Regions from separate parts of the Homo sapiens genome. Here region 2 is linked to region 1. The links are contacts of gene promoters, found by promoter capture Hi-C in human tissues and cell types (Jung and others, 2019). All regions are on one chromosome and are shown on one strand. The core of a region is centred on a gene start or on the middle of the fragment in contact, and the rest is flanking DNA. Distances in the headings are between cores, read along the strand shown. Region 1 holds the start of OR4D1 (olfactory receptor family 4 subfamily D member 1). Region 2 has its middle 42 kb from the start of CCDC182.

Region 1 (4,127 bases), core at 594-3,093:
GCACAACATACGCAGGGTGCAGTGAAAGCAATACTTAGAATTTTATAGCTGTAAAATCCTACATAAAAAAGGAAAAACGTCTCAAATCAATTATCTAACTTTACACTTTAAGGAACTAAAAAAAGAAGAGCAAACTAAAACCAAAGCCAACAGAAGGAAAAAAACAATACAGATTAGAGCAGAGATAAATGAAGTAGAGAATAGAAAAACAATAGATACAATCAATGTAACCAAAGTTAGTTCTTGAAAAGATAAACAAAATTTATAAATGTTTAGCTAAACTAAGAAAAAAAGAGAAGAGGCAAATAAATAAAATCAGAAACATTACTACCAACCTTACAAAAATTAATAGGATTGTAAGAGAGTACTATGAGCACTATATGCCAACAAATTGGCTAATTTAGATTAAATGGAAAAATTCCTGGAAACACAAATTACCAAAACTGATTTCAAAAGAAATAGAAAGTCTCAACAGACCTATAACAAGTAAATGTTGAATCAGTGTTTAAAAAACCTCCCAACCAAGAAAAGTCCAGTACCAGATGGCTTTAGTGGTAAATTCTGCCAAACATTTAAAGGAGTATGAACACCAATACTATGCAAGTTCTTGTAAAAAAAAAAAAAAAAAACAGAAGCAAAGGGAACACTTTTTAACACATTCTATGAGGCCAGCATTATCTTGATACCAAAGCCAGACAAAGATACAAGAAAAGAACTACAGACCATATTCTTTATAAATACAAATGCGAAAATTATGAGATGCCACTTCACTCTCACTATTCTAAGTAAGATGGTTATTCCTCAAAAGATTAGGCACAGTTGCTATAAAATCCAGCAATTCCACATCTAGCTATATACCAAAGAAAAATGAAAGAATACATCCACACAAAATCCTATACATGAATATTCCTAGCAGCTTTATTCATAATAGCTAAAAAGTGGAAAGAACTCAAATGTCCGAGAGCTGACTGACTGATTTACAAAAGTGGTATATCCATATGATGTAATATTATCCAGTCATAAAAAGGAATGACTGGTACATGACTAGTACTGGTACATGCTACAGTACAGATGAAACTTAAAAACATAAGTGAAAGAAGCAGGACACAAAAGCCATATATCATCATATGTGTGTTATATGATTCAATTTTTAGGAAATGTCCAGAACAGGCAAATCCAGAGACAAAAAGTAGATTAGTGGTTTCCAGAGACTGAGGAGAGAACAGAATGGGCAGTGACTGCTAAAGGATATGAGATTTCTTTTCAGAACGAAGAAAATGTTCTGGAATTAGGTAGTGGTGATGGTTACACAAGTTTGTGAATATACTAAAAACCACTGAATGGTTAAAATCATTTAATAATTGTGAAGCTTATGGTAGTTGAATTATATCTTGAGGATGAACTTAGCCAATTTACATTGAGAGTTCACTTTGGCTGAGAGAAGAGCAGATCAGAGATTGGGATAAGAGATGGTACCTTAATGACTGTACATATGAAAAAGGCTTTGGAGTTTATAGAGGGGGTGACCTGGACTGTGTCCTAGGACATAACTCACTTTTCCAACTACAGTGGTGATAGGAGAGGGTGGAGGCCTTGCACTGCCCATGGTGCTGAGGGATTTGGTTCTTGTAAACCTCCCTGGGAATTCACGTCTCTTTAGGGTTCTTATCCTTCTTCATCTTGGTCCTTTGATCAGTAACTCTGAAATGTTGGCCCCAAGACAGTCTCCCAATAATTATGTGCATCTGATGCAACATCTCACATACTTTTTAATAACTCCCATTGCTCATTTGCCCTTAGCAGCCTGAGCCAGGCTTTATCTTATGAATTAAGCCTAAGTTTTACTCCCCAAGGAATTTCCCTTTCCTTAAGGCCAATCCCATATGTGTTCCTTGTCTGAGAGAGGCCAGGAGAAGAATGGAGCTACAGGAGAAGAGTGACCTGGGAGATGGGAGGCTCTAAGTCCTCTTGGCCACTGTGGGCTGGAGGAAGGTGATGGCCTCATTGTCCTTCCCATGGACAAATCAGCACGACAAAGCCTATCGTGAGACAAGCATGGGGTGGAGGGAAGGCATGGGGGAAGTCATCAGGCATTAATGCAAGGGGAACGGGATTTGGGAAACATTGATTTTATCTAACATTAAGACTTTTGTCTGTATTGGCTTATGTGCTGGGTGGAATTTAGAACAGAGGGTGGGAGGGAGAGCGGAATATAGACATACACTGTTATCTCCCCCGCCTCCCACATACATACTACAGCTTCTTCCCACACCTAGGAGAAAACACAAACAGGTCTTGCTCTGACACTTTCCACCCTCTACTGTTCCTTTTTAAGTCTCATCTTCCTCCATCTTCCCCCTTCTCCTGCCTGCTTCTCTCACTCACTCCAGATTTTCTTCCCTTCTTTATTGCTGTCCCTCCATCTTATCCTCTCTTTTCTTAAATCTTGTGTTTAACAATACCTGTTAATGCTCCCTGGATGACAACAGACTAGATTCTACCCCATTTTGGGAACCCACTTATTCCTTCTCCCCTCGTCTCTCCTAGTCCTGTGTGGGCTGATTTTCTAAGAGCAAAGACAGATGGGAGAGAAGATTGAGTAACAACAGAAGAGGTCTAGAATCCTCCCCTTTCCCCATACAGATCCATGTCCCTCCCTATGTCTATTTTCTTTCTTGTCTAGAATCCCTCTAAATCTATTTTCTATGCATGTAGGGGGAGGAAGCATTTGCAAAGATTCTGATGGGTTTGTGGAAAGAATCGGGCCATGCTAAGATGATGCTTCTAGGATTGTAAATCTGGTGATGCTGGGAATTAGGATTCTTGGATTCTCTTTGAGGTCCTATAAACTGCATTCTATCCAGTGGCTACTCTCTCTTTCTTCCCAGCTCTCACGGCAGTCTGGCCCATCCCAGCACCCTGTCCTCCATTAAGCAATCACACATTCTTTTGGGAACCAACTATGAGAAAGGGTCTGTGTGTACCACGTACTGTGTAATACTTAACATATTGGATTTGCACTGAAATTACAACACATGTGAGGAACAGAGCCATCCTCATGAAAAAATACCAAGGCATAGCAACATTATGGAAGAGCTAATTACTCTTGAACCTTGAAGGAAGGGTAGAATTCAGACAGGTGAACAGGACAGAAAAGCAATTCAGATGCGGCACTGACTGGATGAAGGCACTGAGACCTGAGGGACCGAAGAAGAGATAAGTTTGGCTGAAGCTGAATCTTCTTAGAGGAGAGCAGGTAAGAGGAGAATAGTCATTAGGAGTGCAAATTCTGGGTCAATCAGACCTGGCTCAGAATCCCAGCTCTGCTTCTTCTTCTCCATGTGATCTGGGAGAAATTAGTTAACCTATTCAAGCCACAGTTTACTTATCTGTAAAGTGGAGATAATTTATGGTACTTACTATACTTATAAACATGGGAATAATATGTGAGAATTAAAAAAGATAATGCCAGCAAAATATTTAGTATAGTGTCTATCACATAGTAAGCATTCAAAAAATGTTTACTACGATGACAATTACTGCTATTACAACAATAAATGCTTACTACCACAGTTATTACCATTACTACAATTACAATAAATGCTTACTACTACTACTATTAAGTGGCAGATGGACCTGGAAAGAAAGGTAGGAGCCTGTTTGTGTGGAAGCCCCTGAAATCCTAACTAAGTACAAATTCCTTCCTGTAGACAATAAAGAGCCATGGAAAATTTTTGAAAACCTTTTGAAATAGAGGGGGAAGATGTTGTTGAAGAAGTTTATGTATGTACTATGTTGCACAGTGTGGATTAAAATGGACCAAAACCTGGAGGCAAGAACCCACTTGGAGGCCCACAGCAATAAGCCAGATAGGAAAAATAATTTGGCAGTAATTTCAAAGGAAGAACGAATATGCCTTGGTGATAATACATGTGGAGTTCAAGGGAGAAGTCTAGCTGGGTGAGGGGATAACAGACAGAAATAGGAGAGCCAGAGAGGTATTTGGGTTTAGAGTAAAGAAGTAGCAAGAATGATTTCATAATAATGACAGGCAGCTCACAGTGCCAGATGGAGCTGAAAGAACCCACGGTTACTGACGGGCTTTAGCCATTACAGTGACACTCAAA
Region 2 (4,127 bases), core at 679-3,178, 360 kb before region 1:
TCCCAGCCACAGCCATCTCCTGGCTGGGCTCCCAGCTTTCACCCTGTTCCTCTGAGGACATTTCCACATAGCAGAGTCTTTTATGACAACAGCTGAATCGTGTCACTCCTTGGCTTAAACTCTCCAAAGCTTTCTCTTCTCACTAAGAGAAGAGGATGCAGGGTCCTTGCACGGACTCCAGGGCCACATGTGGTCTTGCCCCTGGCTTCTTCTCCAACCTTATCTCCTACCCTCCCCGTGCTCACGTCACTCCAGCCGCACTGGCCTCCTTGCCATTGGTGGAGTGTGCTGAGCATGATTCCGCCTGAGGTCTTTGTCCTTACTGCTCTCTTTTCCTGTAACACTCCGACCCCAGACAACCACAGGGCTCCTTCCCTCACTCCATTCAATCTGTGCTCATTGTAGTAGCAAGGCCTTCCCTGACCACTCTCTATAAGATAGAAACCCCAACCTTTCCCCTTACTGTGTGTATTTTTTCTTCATAGCATGTATCATCACTTGACATAGTATAAGTTTCATAGTTATTTTTTGTCTCCCCCAACTAGATTGTAAGCTCCATGAGAACAGGAACTTTGTTTTGTTCACTGCTGTATCCCCACTTCCTAGTACAGTGCCTGGCACATAGCAGCTGCTCAATAAATATGTGTTGACTGGCCAGGCACAGTGGCCCACGCCTGTAATCCCAGCACTTTGGGAGGCCTTGGTGGGTGGATCACCTGAGGTCAGGAGTTCAAGACCAGCCTGGGCAACATAGTGAAACCCAGTCTCTACTAAAAATACAAAAATTAGCCGAGTGTGATGGTACGCGCCTGTAATCCCAGCTACTCGGGAGGCTGAGGCAGGATAATCGCTTGAACCTGGGAGGCAGAGATTGCAGTGAGCCGAGATTGTGCCACTGCACTCCAGTCTGGGCGACAAAGCAAGACTCTGCCTCAAAAAAAAAAAAAAAAGTGTGACTACAGGAATGAATTAGTCCATACTGACAACCCCCCACTGCCTGGCTAGGAGGCAAAAGATCCAAGGGCAGCTTCAGCACTGACTTCAGAGACATATTCATGACTCTGTGCTTTGTCTTTCACCAATAACCCATTAGATAGGCCTATAACTAGAACATAAGCAATAATGCTTTAGCATTCTCGGTCTCAAAAATATTATGTAAAACCTTTAAAGGTTGTGAGATAACATGATATCTTCCACTTCTGGGCTAGACAATCAGATTTCATTTTTTTCCATCATAGGAACAGAGACAAACTTGTGAAATCATTCACCCCAGATTTTCTCTCTGTTATATCATGTCATCACTTCTATCACTCATTGTTCTAGTGATACATTCAAAATAATGAACATTCAGGGAAATGCCGGCTGGGTCCAGGATGGCCCTGGCTGTTTTTAATCACACTCTTAAATAAAAGCAGAAATGCACCTGACCTTGTAGCATCTTCGGGAGAAAGAGGGTCAATGCTTCTAAATCTAAATCTCCCAACTTATTTCACCTAAAGATCAATTGTAGAATTGTGTGCACTGCAAGAAAGACCAAGAATATACTCAAAAATTGACAGAAGGACAGTGGCTTAGAAATCCACTCTTTTCCACAAATTGCACCCTCCCAGAGTCTATCAACTTCCCAGCCATATGCAATATCACTTTCCTGTGTTCATCTTGCCTAGATGGGGATGCCTTTGGGTGAGTGAGACATCTCCAAATAAGTAAAAGCTGTTTCAACTGGCTCCCACTTCTGTTTATTATGGAGTACCGTGAGCTGCCACCAAGCAGAAGATCCCGCTCCTGATATTCATGGTACTTTTAACTTACCAAAATCATGTCATGTATTATTAATCTCTATGGGAATAGGTGCAAAGCACTGACATCTTCCAGCAACCCCTTGATCCACTTGGTTCTATCCCTAGCCTCTCATGCTAGTTCACCCTTTTTAAGTCTATGTTCTGATTTACTTCTTCTTGGTGCTCTTGGGCCCTGGGAATGCAAAGTCCTTTCTCTTTGGGTCCAAGGTTTACCCCTCAGCCTTCAAATGTTAATTATTCTCCTTGAATATGACCTCATTCTTTCATTCAACAAATATTTGGACTGGATAAACTGATATAAATTCACAATTACCATTAGTGTGCTAAGTACTAAATAGAGATATTTATAAGGTGCCAAGGAAGCCTAGAGCAAGATTACTGGGTGGGGAAAGAATCTAGAAGATGGATTAGGGTTGGGGGCTGAAGGCGGCTCACCAGTTGGGAAGTCACTGCAATAGCCCAGGCAAGACACTGGTAGAGCAGCTGTGAGTGGTGGGGATGGTGCTGGGGATGGACTGGACCAGGGAAATTACAGAAGTAACTGGATAAGAGGGAGAGGGGCAAGTCCAGGGATACTCCCAGCTTTCGGGTGCAGATAACTAGACATCCACATCCCCAGAAAGATTGTTTGCCACCCCTTTCTCCTTTCTCTTCCTTACCTTCAGGATCCAGCCCATGTAATTGTCCCCAGTATAGTCACAGCTCCAACCTACCAGTCTCATCACACACCCTCTCTGTGACTCAGTTTCCTCATTCATAAATGGAAGCAATAATAGTCATTTCCAAGTAAGTTCGCAGTGATGAATAAACAGTTAATCTGTGTAAAGTGTTTTGGATAGTATCTGAGACATAATAAGCACTCAAAAAAATGTTAGCTATGGTCATCATCATTAAGGTCATCATTTCTTCCCAACCGCCCATCCTGAACCACCGTGCTTCTTTCCCACCTCAAGGAGCTATCCGTGTGTTCTTGGCTCCTCTGCTCTAGGTCTATGCACAGTCTAACATCTTTCCAAGATTTATTTTTTAGATTCCCAAATTTCTGCTGTGGAGGAACTCTTTGCTGCAAGACTTTAACTTGTTCTCAAAGTAAGCTGAATTAAACATGGAGATGCCTCCCTCGGCACCCCCAGCACTCCGCTTCTGCTGTATCCACAGCCGAATGAAACAATATAATCAGGACAGAAACTCCATTCCTTGGGTGGGTGCTGCCAACCACCTGCCTGGCTCCAGTTGAAACCTGCTTGTTTCTTTTTCCACTCTCTAAATGCTCACAGATGTCTGTCTGTTTTCCTCTAATACTTGACTTCCAAAAGATGGGGGATGATTGGCTACTTGTAAATATGTTAATCTCTCTTTTTCTTTCTCTCCTAATATCAAAAGAAGCAGGGGGTGCATGAGGGGATCTTTTTCTCCTGGGTGGAGTTAAAGTTGGCAAAACCTGCCAACAACTTTGTTGCATATTGAAGGGGGCTAGGAATAGTGCATTCCTTGACCAGAGAATTTGACTGAGCTCTTAACCCCTTAGCGTTAATCGCTCCACCTCCACTAGGGCTTTGAGAAGCATTAGAAGGACCCCAAACCAGGGAGTGGCCAACATGACCACAGACTAGTAGGAACCAGACAGGGTCTAGCTGGGAGAATTGGTTTCTGAATTGCTACAGGACATTCAGATTAGGGAACTGTTCCCAGGAGGAAAAGGCAGGAATGAACACCAGTGGTCCAAGCTGAGAATGGGAGAACGAGGACATACTCTAAGCATGTCCTCCACCACAAGCCTGCTTTACAGCATCTTTCAGAAAGGGCTGAAGGCTTTACATAGGAGAAGATACTGTCTCTGGTGTCAGAACCTTTAAAGTTTGTATCTGAGCAGGAAAATATTTACTATAGAAGGTGTGGTACATGGAACAATGTCGTTCAAAACTTAAAGACTCAAATCTGAACTATCGTGGGAGTGTAAGTTTATGCAAAATCTGTGAAAAGCAAATTGGCCAGATGAGTCAAGAGCCATAAAAATATCCATTATCTTTGACTCAGAACTCCCACTTCTGCATTCGATCCTAAGGAAATCACTCCAAATGCAGAAAAAGATGTCTGCTATGGGGCAAAAATGGAAACATCCCATCTGCCCATTTATAGGGGAAGAGTGAAAAAAATCAGGAGGAGCTCCTTGAGAAACCAGCTGGCAACATGTCTCTTACGAAGAGTACATGAAAACATGGAGACATTTTATAACAAGGCTGGAAACAGCAGTTACACTAACATTTGTATATGCTAGAATTTCAACCATTGGCTGAAGATGATGGAGACAGTGCATTTCAAAAG

Evidence for each region. Contacts are between HindIII fragments. The study calls those that stand out against the background at their distance.
Region 2: a fragment that was not itself captured here is called in contact with the fragment with the promoter of OR4D1 in region 1 in 2 of the 25 tissues and cell types used here (lymphoblastoid cells and mesenchymal stem cells).

Annotation. Positions count from the first base shown.
Region 1 is chr17:58,146,541-58,150,667 of GRCh38, forward strand. It overlaps OR4D1 (olfactory receptor family 4 subfamily D member 1), which reads left to right and starts at 1,844. Exons shown (of 4, transcript NM_001386095.1): 1 at 1,844-2,044; 2 at 2,889-3,256. The HindIII fragment of the contact is 15,992 bases long and covers 426-4,127 here.
Region 2 is chr17:57,785,044-57,789,170 of GRCh38, forward strand. No RefSeq gene overlaps it. Among named protein-coding and RNA genes, the nearest start is that of CCDC182, 42 kb to the left of the region's middle. The HindIII fragment of the contact is 7,195 bases long and covers 1-4,127 here.